4 separate regions of the Homo sapiens genome follow, and all the other regions are linked to region 3. Evidence: promoter capture Hi-C in 16 types of primary human blood cells and fetal thymus (Javierre and others, 2016). All regions are on one chromosome and are shown on one strand. Each heading gives the region's core, a stretch centred on a gene start or on the middle of the fragment in contact. The rest is flanking DNA. Distances are from core to core; before and after follow the strand shown.

The links. The method cuts DNA at HindIII sites, captures the fragments that hold promoters and counts their contacts. A CHiCAGO score of 5 or more calls a contact.
Region 1: a fragment that was not itself captured here is called in contact with the fragment with the promoter of PLCL1 in region 3 in 2 of 17 cell types (megakaryocytes and M0 macrophages); the score reaches 5.3 in megakaryocytes.
Region 2: a fragment that was not itself captured here is called in contact with the fragment with the promoter of PLCL1 in region 3 in 5 of 17 cell types (M0 macrophages, megakaryocytes, fetal thymus and 2 more); the score reaches 16.2 in M0 macrophages.
Region 4: a fragment that was not itself captured here is called in contact with the fragment with the promoter of PLCL1 in region 3 in 1 of 17 cell types (M0 macrophages); the score reaches 6.0 in M0 macrophages.

Annotation. Positions count from the first base shown.
Region 1 is chr2:199,487,476-199,490,313 of GRCh38, reverse strand. No RefSeq gene overlaps it. Among named protein-coding and RNA genes, the nearest start is that of SATB2-AS1, 21 kb to the right of the region's middle. The HindIII fragment of the contact is 1,286 bases long and covers 913-2,198 here.
Region 2 is chr2:199,464,914-199,467,869 of GRCh38, reverse strand. It overlaps a transcript of SATB2 not described here. Among named protein-coding and RNA genes, the nearest start is that of SATB2-AS1, 1.7 kb to the left of the region's middle. The HindIII fragment of the contact is 8,458 bases long and covers 1-2,956 here.
Region 3 is chr2:197,803,258-197,805,957 of GRCh38, reverse strand. PLCL1 (phospholipase C like 1 (inactive)) reads right to left here and starts at 1,365. Exons shown (of 6, transcript NM_006226.4): 1 at 619-1,365. The coding sequence starts at 858. It overlaps LOC105373828 (a long non-coding RNA gene), which reads left to right and starts at 1,412. Exons shown (of 4, transcript XR_001739850.3): 1 at 1,412-2,249. RefSeq lists a silencer at 1,189-1,318. The HindIII fragment of the contact is 1,428 bases long and covers 345-1,772 here.
Region 4 is chr2:199,449,022-199,451,893 of GRCh38, reverse strand. The region is part of intron 2 of SATB2 (SATB homeobox 2); the gene reads left to right. Among named protein-coding and RNA genes, the nearest start is that of SATB2, 7.5 kb to the left of the region's middle. The HindIII fragment of the contact is 503 bases long and covers 1,280-1,782 here.

The DNA of each region.
Region 1 (2,838 bases), core at 306-2,805, 1.7 Mb before region 3:
CAAACTTCTGAATGCTATTCCATGGCAGAGAGACATGTTTGTCATTTAATCATTCCCCTCCTGACGGATACTTGGGTTGCTTCCAAGTTTTCAAGATTATAAACAGTGCTGCAGTGAATATCCTTGCACACCTTTTTTGGTATACATTTATTGAGACAGATCCCTGAAAGTAGAACTGGTGGACAGGCCTAAAGTTTAATTTTGCTATAAGACGCCAGTTTTCGAGTCTATTTTATTCGGTGCTTCCAGATAACAAGATTTGTAAAATTGTAAAGTAAGTTATTTCTTGACAGGATCCATCCTAAGGCTAACATTAATCCAGAAACAAACCCACCAGTGCCTCTGATAATTATGCTGTATCTCAGAAAGCTAGGAATACTTGGCCACAGGCACAGTTCTTTAAGCTTTTAAAGCTTTTCTGAGCCAGTTGTGGTGGCTCACGCCAGTAACACCAGCATTTTGGGAGGCTGAGGCAGGAGAATCGCTTGAGCCCAGGAGTTGGAGATCAGCCTGGGCAACATAGGGAGACCTCATCTCTACAAAAAATTAAAAAATTAGCCAAGTGTGGTGGTGCCTGCCTGTGGTCCCAACTACTTGGGGAACTGAGGTGGAGGGATCACTTGAGCCTGGAATGTCAAGACTGCAGTGAGCCATAATTGTGTCACTGCATTCCAGCCTGGGTGACAGAGTGAGACCCAGTCTCAAGAAAGAAAGAAAGAGAGAGAGAGAGAGAGAGAGAGAGAGAGAGAGAGAGAGCAAGCTCTTTGGGAAGCTGGGCAACCTAGCAAGACCCCACCTCTCCAAAAAAATTAAAAATTAGCCAGCACACCACTGCACTCCAGCCTGGGTGACAGAGCAAGACCCTGTCTCAAAATAAAAACAAACAAACAAACAAAAAAAGTAAGTAAAGCTTTTCTGGGGCCTGCTAAAAAGTTCGAGATCTGGAAAAATTGTTCCCTTCAATATATAAAACCTAGAGAACGCTAAAGTTAACACAGATTTATTAAATCCCTACAAAATTTATCATTGTGTCAATTTCATTAATATTACATTTAGTATTCATAAATGTTTCATTGTTGGAATTCTCTTTAATTCTTTCCCCAATCTGCTTTCCTCCCTAAGTGAGGGACCAACACCAACCCTCTTGGTTTCTCCTTACTGTATTCAGAGAAAAGATTCACCTAAAAAATAACTTAAGGTCTTTCTTTTTCTCCTCTTTATTTTGGGTGTCTTTCTAAGGAGGATTGCCTTCTGCTCCTCGTTTAGGAAGAAGGCAGCTTTAACCAGGACAACAGTTTGGGGACGGAGCTCCCTTCCCCAGGAGGGGGCAGTATTGAGGAGAGAACTGCATGTGGCCAGTGGCAAAAACTAGGGGAGAAATTCTTTCTTCAGTCTTCTGAGAGAGCCCATGGAAGACAGCGAGAACTTAGAGGGCAACAGACCCAATTCATTTGGTGGGTTGATAGGGCAGGGGCTGTGGGTCACAGGCTCCCTGTTGTGGGGATGAGGCGGCAGGCAATGTAAAGGATCTCCCTCTTGATGCAGCTTTCATTCTGAGTATCAAGCTCTTTTTTAATGTACTTGTTTTCCTCTAGTGCTTAATTCTTAGCAATGACATAGCATCCTGCTACATTTCATCATGAAAGTACTGTATTTCAGCAGCACTTTGGGTTAATCAGTACTGTCAGGATAGGCTGGGAGCCTAATCAACAATAGTGTTTCTATGAAGGATGACAGAATTAGTGAATGTAATCACCTCAAGTGTTTCTTGGCTCTGAATTTAATTCAACAAGCTCGTGTTGAGTACTTACCAAGTATCCTGCTAGACAGAGAAAACCCTGAAAATAGGGACCAGCTATTTATTTATTTATAAAATTTATTTGTTTATAAAATGCATTCAGGGTTTCCAACAATGGACTTACACAGGAACCTTTGGAACACCATCCATCCCTGACTGGGCACTCTTCACACGGGCCATGTATGGGACAACCAGACGTTTCTGTTTTCCAAAGAAGTTTGTGATTCCCTGGGAAATGTCCCAGGCCAGGGAGTTTTTTGTTCAAGGTTTCTCTGTAATAAGTACTGTGTGGGATACTTTATGGATTGACCTGGCTAAATTATGTTGTTTTTTTAAGCTGGTGATTTTGTAGTTTACAAAATGATCCACAGAGTTTGGCAGTTTGCAAGCCTTAAAAGCTTGAGATGCATTTCTAAGAGTACAAATATTCCCTTTGGCCATTTGGGCCACAAAACCCTGAAGGTTCCCTTGCTTGGAGATTGTTGGTGGTCTTCCTTTTCTGCAGCCTGGAGCTCTGCCTGGAGCCTTTAAAAGTGAAGTGGACTAAACTCTGTTAAAATTATATGAATTGCCTGACTACTCCTTACCCTTATCCCCATGAAAAGTACCTGATTGTTAACATCTCTTTATAGATATATCCAAGATGTAGTGACTTCAGTTTCTCCCTTTGCCAGACAATGGAGGTTGACTTGTGTTCTTCATTCTATAGTTCTCACCCACACATCCAGGAGAGTTCCAAGGGAGCCATAAAGGTACACCAGTGGATTTCAGCATTTGAGAAAGTCTCTCAAATGTCATATGTTTACTTCTCTGAAATAAAACTGCACAGAAAAAGAAAACATCAACTGTCTTTTGCTTTTGGCTGAAATTGTATAAACTCACCAGTTGAGACATTGGCCATACGGAGATGAGGAAGAGCTGGTCCCTATTTTCAGGGTTTTCTCTGTCTAGCAGGATACTTGGTAAGTACTCAACACATGCTTGTTGAATTAAATTCAGAGCCAAGAAACACTTGAGGTGATTACATTCACTAACTCTGT
Region 2 (2,956 bases), core at 197-2,696, 1.7 Mb before region 3:
GAGCAGTGGAGGCAGGGACACCCCATTCTGCATTAGGTGGCATAAGCTGCAGTCACTGAGGCCCTGGCCCCGGGGTCCTGTGTCCTAGGCCAACGTGGTGGTGGTGAGGGGGCTGGGAGGGGTATATTGCGGTAGGGATGCTGAAAGACCTTGACCTGACTGCCCTCTCCTTTCTGAGAGCTAAAGAATGTGGTGGGGATTCTTCCAAAGCCGGGAGAAGGCAAGACTAGTGTGTGCTAGTGGGTGCAGCTGGGCTGCAGAGGGAGGGAATTCCTGCCGACTACAGGGAGCCCTCTGTGCTTGTCTCTCTCCCCCGCCCTCAGCCCTCTTCCCCTTTCATTGAATGCCTGAAGTCAGAGCCTACCTGGAAACCCTCAAAATTTTACACTCCACTTGTCCGAGGTTTCCAATGATGACAAATTTGAAAAACGCTTCGGCTGAAGCCCGGCACCTAAGGCTGAGAGTTGGGGGGAGGGGAGGCTGTTGGATAAAAGCTCCTTGGAAAAGACACACTTGCCTCCCCCTTTTTCGCCACGCGGAAACTGGCCGGTCTGGACAAGGGATTGCGCTGGGCTAAGGCCTCGGGCTGGGGAGAGCTCCAGCAGCCTGAAAGCCGAATCCGCAGAAGTTATCCACCTGGCTCCTTAGCCACCGGCCAACAAGAGGGCTCTGGGCGTCCCGCCCTTCACGCCTGTATTAGAAAGGCCTGAGTCTGGCCGGGAGACCTGACTTGAGGTCTCTTGGGAGGAGCAGGGGGTGCCAGTTCTGCAGGGGACTTGCCCAGTTCCAGTGAGGCTGATGTAGAAAACAATAGCTCTGTCCTCAGCCTGGGCGGCCAGCCGGGGCCGCACGTGTAAGATGTGATTCTATCTGAGTTTCCAAATCTAAGTGCATTGATTGAGGCCCAAAGAGTTCACGGCGCATAACTGTCTTAATTAAACCTGCTATAAACAGACAAATCACTTCTTGTTCTTGTAAATAGAGCTTGGGGAGATGGCACAGGGTCTGGCAAAAGCCAGGCTTGGGGAACATTCTTAAAAAAGGAAAAGAGTACTGAGACACAGACAGAAAAAGAATAAAACTGGAGTATCCACATCTTCAGAAAATAGCTCAACTGAAACCAAAATATGCCATAGCAGGGAAGTAATGTGAGACACCCTAAGTTCCCAGAGCAGCTCAGTGGAGGCTGGTAGCCCAGGATGGGACCAATGGTGGAAAAGCAGGGAGCCGGAGAGACCACAGGTTGTTTGGGGGAGGACAGGTGCCCATTGCTGAGGCTCTGAGCTACTCTACTTGGCCCTGCACTTTCCTTGCCAATCCTTCCATCTTTCCCTGCCACTGATCTCAACTTCCTGATACTGAGAGACAGTGCTGGGAGGACAAGTACTCTCTCAACTTGGTCAGCTTGGGGGACAAGGGCTGGTCACCAAGAGCTCAGAGATAGCAACAACTGGGGATGATGGGTGATCATAGGAGTCCAGCGGGAGCAGATGGGAAGAAAAGTTGTCTGTGATCCTCTGGGAAAGCAGAAAATGGGGAGTATGTACACCCACAGCTCAGATTCTGCTGTCCCTAAGTGCCGGCAAGGGCTGGGGGATGATCTTGAGTAGGGTCAGGTGCTCCAGTGCCCCAGCTGTTGGGTGTCCAGAAGAGGTTAGGTGTGTGGTAGCTCTGGGAAGAATGCGCGAGACGTCCTTCACTTGGAATGTGCAAAGGGCCGGGTCTGTCTCCAAGTAACTCCGGGTCTCCGGAAGTTACCTGGCAGGGGCAGCCCTCAGCAGACTTTGGGTCTTACAGCATAAAACGAGACGAACTAAGGGGAGCCCACCACTTTTCTAGCTAAAAGTGGAAAGGAAAAGTTGTCTATAATATGTAAATACAGGAGATATGAGTGCACAGGTTTGGGTGGGTTCCTGGTAACTTCTGGAGCCGACTTTTCCCTGGTCTTGGTTTGCAAACTTTAATTCCCATTTCTTTTCCTTTACTATTTAGCATATGACTCTAACAATAATCTGATTCAGAAATACTCTTCATTTCGTTAGGCTAACATTGATAAGGAATTTAAGTTCAGGTAAATTTTAGCACAACACTTTTCTAAAAAGTAACTTTAAAAGTGTTTTTAACTTCCACACAACAAAAACGAAAAAAGTATATATCACTATGGTTGGAGAGAAACATTCTTAGATTGCCTTTATATTTCAGAGACTTTGTATAGGTGCCAGCAACTCCGCAGACACTAACAAATGGGTTATTTGCAGTTATTGTTCATGAAAGGTCTTTTATATTTTTAAATTACGGCATGGTTCCCAGGTGGAAAAATTCCTTACAATTAAGAACTGGTTTTCAAGAAGATTGGAAAACCAGAACAAAAATTACAACGTTTTATCATATAGAAGTCTTTACTGAAAACAACGGATATTGAGTGGAAGTCAGAATGTAATGAAAGTTAATTAAAATGCAAACTATTAGGGAAACACTGCAGATGTCTTTCTGTCATATCCAACGGGACAGTCTTTAGATATTCCACCCTCCCTTATATTATACTTGTATTGTGAGACTTGAATGGTTGTCAACAGTTTTCTGTTGACAGAAATAACAACAGTTCACCTTTGAAAACTCTTCACTCAAAGCTACAATGATGATTGCTCTCGAGACAAGGACTGCTGAAACAAATAACTTTCACACATCTACACTCACACTTGCACACCCCAAACGCACACGCAATTGCCGGTTTTTGAAAACGTTGCCTCTGAATGAGAAAGAGAGAGAGAGAGAGAGACTGAGAAAGTCGAACTCGAGCTTAGGTAACCAACAAACCCAATTACTAGGCTTTATTGATACTAAAAGGAAAAGTTCCCCTCGTAAAATTTCTCTGAGCTTATTAGTTATTTAAATCAGCCCCAGGGTTGGACGCGTGACGCCGAAGGCACCTTCTGTCGGCTCCTGGAGGTGAGCA
Region 3 (2,700 bases), core at 116-2,615:
TGTGGTGGTAACCACAAGGACCAGTGATAATGCTTGGGGGATTGATTGCTTTCCGGTTGTGCTTTCTGCAGCGCAAAAACTCTGGGCTCTTGCATTGCTCTTTACTGTGATGCAGGGTCCACTTAAAACTCTGCCTCCCTACCGGGAAAGTTCACACATCTTGGGATTTCGGGATCATTTAAGTCTAGAGGGATTCTTTTTTTACACTTGAGAGTAAGCTGTGCATTTTCTTCATTGTATGGGAAAAGCTAACCCTTCATTGGAAAGCAATGCACAACCATCCGGTGGGTCTGCATTTATCCAGAGTTCTCCCTTCCTCCCTCCATCAACGGTTTAGTGAAGCTTGCAGAGAAAATGAGGGAAAGCATCCATCAGAACGCAAAGACGCAGAGCGGAACTTTTCCTCTGCCGTCAGTGGGGAGAAAAAGTCACTTGTGCGTCTCGTGGCTGACAGCTGAGTCTGGGAACCTCCGGATAAGGAAGGAAGGTTTGGCGTTGAAGGAGGTGGGAGAAAACAATGCTGAGCCCGGATGCCTCCGGACACCGCACATCCTGCCCGGGTCCCTGACCCACCCATCACCCACAGCCACGCTCCCGGTGCGGCGCGGCTTTGCTTACCTTGATGATGCTGCTGCGCCGGGGGGTCGCCCGTGCTGCCTCCAGGAGGCCCGCCTCGCTGTCCGCTGGGGTCCCCGCGGCGCCTGGCAGTGCGACCCCGCTGCGACGGTCCCTCATCCGGCCCCCAGAGGCCGCCGTCACGCAGTCCCCGGCGGCATCCGGGCCCACTCGGGGGTCGTCTTCGCCCCCCGCCGCGTCGGGCGGCGCCGGATCCTCCCTGCCGGCCGCGCCCTCGGCCATGGCCTGGAGCGTTTAGGGCTCCCCGGGGGAAAGCGGGACGCCCGGCAGCGGAGTCCAGCCGCTAGGCACCGGTGCGCTCCTGCACCGGGAGGCGGCCCCGCCAGACTTTGTTTCACCGCCCAGCGGCGGCAGTGGCGGCGGCGGCGGCGGCGGCGGCAACTTTCTGGAGAGGGGACATCGCTCGGGCAGAGACGTCCTCGGGCTTCGGTCTAGGAGGCTAGCAGTCCGGCGGGGGACGGTGGCGGGAGTGGGGAGGCGATGTGAGCGGGAGGCAGAAGGAGAGGCGAAAAAGAGAGGGAGGTATCCGAAATGTGATGCAAACGCCGGCCCTGCGCCAGACAAAAGGCACCGGGCGCCCAGCCAGGCGGCCTCTGGAGCCCGGACGCCGGCGGCCCGATAGGGGCCAGAGCCGGGCGACTGCGGCCGGGCGCACCCGCCACCTGCCCGCGGACTGCGGCGCAGCGGTCCCAGGAAGTGCGGCGGCGGCGGCGGCCTCCACTCAGCTCTGTTGTGACAGGGAGGGAGACTTGTTTTGACAGCCCTTGGGGATTGGCAGGCGTCTGGGCCTCTTAGGAGCCTCGCCTCGCCGAGGGGGCTCGGCCCGACCAATCCTCACTGCGGAGGGGTGTGCCCGAGCGCGAAGAATGGAATGTGTTCTGCAACTGGGAGCCGGCCCAGCGGGGCTAATGTACTCGAGCCAGGGTGTACCCGCGCGCGCGCGTGTGCAAACCCGGAGGCGCTCCGTGTATATTTTAGGAAGTTTAGATTTGCGAAATGAGCCTGAGATGCAACAAAAATCCAGGTTGGGTGAAGGAGAGGGGAGAAAGAAACCTTCTTCTGCCAAACAAAGCAATTTGGAGGAAAGTGGGTATTGAGTATGAATGTCTAAGCGTTTGGGGTGACGGGGTGAAGCTTTGCGTGGTCACAGGTTAATTGCAGGCTCTCAGGCCAATTCTTAGAAGTCAAGTCCATGCAGAGATAAACTAGGGTTTACTGGGATCTTGGGGTTCCATAATTTGCTTCAGGTTCCAGGAAAGGATTCTAAGGTCATTCTGCAGTGTGAGTAAATATAACAAGGAAAGGGAGTCAGTGAAAGAGATGAGGGTGAAAGGAAACTGAACCAACTAAATCCCTCCGAAGACTGACTCTTAAAAAGCACAGATATAATCCAAGTCAGATAAATGCAGGTGGGGAGTTTAGTCTCTATCCTAAAACATTCCTATTTGACAATGGTTCAGCCTCCTTTCTCTATATAATCCTATATAAAAACATATTTTGCTCATTTCCAGTAAGCTAGCAACCAAGAAGGGAGAGATCTTTGGATGATGAGTTAAGTCACTGAAATTATCCACAGAATGCTCAGATGCAAACCATGGTCCTAAGGCTCCCTGGTAAGACAAAAGACTTGGCATTTTAATTTTAAACTCCTTTGATATTAGAATCTATATTAAACCTCACTTATAACATTACATTTTATCTTATTAATAATTTAATAATTTGAGATTTTACTTGTTCCTTAGTCTGGCTAACAGCATGAGAAATTATTCAGCATTTTAGACCAACAATTTGGTTTGAATCTCATAATTTTAGAGATATATGGGGATTTAGGGATCAACTAGGACATCATTTTTGTTTTACGGTTGAGACAAAGGCCCAGGGAGTCTTGTCTACTAGTTAGTGCAGGAGCCAAAATTAGAATCAGCCACCCAACTCCTCCGATAATCTCTTCACTACTTTATCTGTCTCCTCTGGGCTACAACCAGCCAGAACTGGCAGGGGCACTTGGGAGGTTTCAGATTTGACATTTATCAACTACTAGGGAATACTGAGAAGGCTTGACTT
Region 4 (2,872 bases), core at 282-2,781, 1.6 Mb before region 3:
CAAGAACATAACTGTCTTGTTGCAAGGGGGAAAAAAATCATTATGCAGTACACACTGATGTATTCAAATAGGGAAGCAAATGTGATCAAGATTGTTAGTCAGGGCCTCATTTAAAGCTGAACATTGTCTACAACAACAGTTAGTTTAATTGTCTACATGTGGAACACTTCCTTTTAGATGAAAAGAAATGCAGTTCGGGTCAGGTGTAGTCACCATATCAGCAACAGTAGAGAGACATTTAACTTTTTGAAAGGAATGCAGATATGAAAGTATAGATAGGTATATATTGAGATTATAAAATACTTAGAAATATATTGTTAACATGGGCAAAATGGAGAAAACTCCATTCCCAAGGATGAATATCATAATATTTGTAGGAAGTACACATTACTTCAAAAGAGAAAAGATTGTATTTCTCCCTCCTCACTTTTTTTTTTTTTTTTTAAGGTTTTAAGATCTTTTAAATAGAATGAACTTAGGCTTTGGGGTCATCCAACAATCTAGCCTGTCCTCTGTAGTTTTGCTGAGGTAGAAAAATAACTCTTCTCTAAAGTGTTTTTAGTTCTTGGCCTGTTATTAAAATAAAGATATACTTGGTTAAAAAAATATATGCAGTGGAACATACACATTAAACAGAACATAGGGTATCCGCCCCTCAAAGTCCTGAGCATAATTTGATGTTTCAAGTAATTTTGGAAGCCTTATGTTCCATCAGAAGAAACCCACTGACCATTGTATACTCAAGATCATCTGTAGTGCAGTGTGTGTGTGTGTGTGTGTGTGTGTGTGTGTGTGTGTGTGTTGGAACTACATAGATGTCCCTTAAGGCATCTGTTTTTTAACCCCTGCAGAAAATAAGCAATATCATCCTTTCCCAGAGGGTTGTAACCAGCAAAGTCTGTACATATGAGATATCCTGTTTGAATTCTTCTTTTCTTTCTTGAATTTTGTTTTAACCAATCTATCTCTGTAGAGAAGGGAAAACAGACTAATCATCATTTATTAGATAGCTAAGAATATGAATTTGAGTCATTTTAAGTATACGGAAATCAGTTTTATTCCAGGAAAGACTACAGTAATTATTTGGTATATCTGACAAAGTAGTAAGCAGTGAAGTTTGATGGTTATAATTTAAAACCCCTATTTTTCTTTCTTTTTAAAAAGTATTTATTATAGAATCAGCATATGTGTATATATTTAAAAAGACATGTTAAATTTACAGGGCTAGATGAATTCCAAATAGTATTATTTTCTTGGGTTATACTTATCTTTTAAAGCTTTTTAGGTTTCTGTTGGAATAAAATTTCTCACCATTAAAATGTTTCTTATGACTAAGAACCCACATTAGGTGTGTAAAATATGTACATTGTTTTATTTCAGAAAGCCAAACTTTATCCTATATAGCATGTAAATTAATAAAGAATTCTTTATATTGTTTAATCAGTAGGCTTTTAAAAAACCTATATAACTAATATATGGTAACATAGTAATTTTTACTATCTTCCTTACATGAATACTGAGATACAATGGCATTTTGGAACATATTTAAAGATGGAGCATTTGACAAAAGTTGTATGTGTAACAGTTTGTCAGTGAAAAGTGACAAGTGGGAAATGACAAATGAAATGTTGGCATCATCACTCTTTATTTTGATAAAAATGTCTCAATTTGCAGTGATATAATACTGTTTCATATTATTTCATGAGTTGTGTGAGAATGCATAAGGGGAATTTAGATTTTGTGAACGGAAAATTAGCAGCCCAAAGTCTCTTTTCAGAAGCTTTGGCAGCAAGTTCCCCGTCTCCCCCACTCCCCAAGAATAAGAACAGCAGTGAAATGTTGGATCTAACCCATACATTTTAACTCATTATTTTTTGGAAAAAACAGAGAAATAACCTAAAATGGTTTCGAGTAGGAGACCTTTATGCTTAACTCAAAAAAATGAAGAAAAGAGTTTGCCTTTTAGTTTCTATTCTTTTCTTTGTAGCAATTTTTAAATGAATGATTTGCCTCTACTGACTTTGATTGTATGGTCTTTTTTCACTTCCAATCAACACTGCTCTCCAGCATTAATTTAGGGTGCCAGTAAGGAGAGCTGTGAATTCCTGTTATTTTAAAATGCAATAGAGGTTTTGAAAATGTCTGTGGTGAAAATGGATTTTTATATACAAAAGATTCATCATCCTACTACTTAAATGTAATGTGATAAATATTTCAAAGTCAAAGTAGATGCCCTGAGTGGAACTGAGGTATGACTAAAACAAAAACCAGTTGAGGACTTACAGAGTTTGAAAAAAGCACAGTTGTAGTCATTATAGTATGCTATTTTCCGTTGCTCTTTATTGTTAGCAATTAACCAAACATTATTTTTCTTCTTTTATGTAGAAACAAGCCCTGTAAGCATAACATGCTACAGTGTTTTTGTAAAAATGTTCCATGGTGGAGTTTTCAAAATTATGGAACTCTAGCTATATATATTTGTTTCAATTAACAGAATTATTTTGCTTTTTAGTAGCAAGTGATTTAAGAATTGTGGTAAAATCAGTATAATTAAGTGGCACTGAAAGGCTACATCAGAAATTGCATTCTACAACTTCTGTATCTTTGCTGCTCAATTAAAAAGTTTTACTTATTTCAGATTTTTAAAAAACTAGATAAAAAGACATAATATGGAACAAGTGTGCTTTAGATATATAATTATGACAATAGAGTTTATGGCATGCATTTTTTTTCCCCTTTTTAATTGATGTCCTTTAACTTAAACAAGTGGATGTTATGGTTATTAGTTTGACAAATGCCTAAAATGCAGATAAAAGCATGAATAGAAATTTTAAGAATTTGAAACTTGCAATAAAGTTATCAGCAAACTATG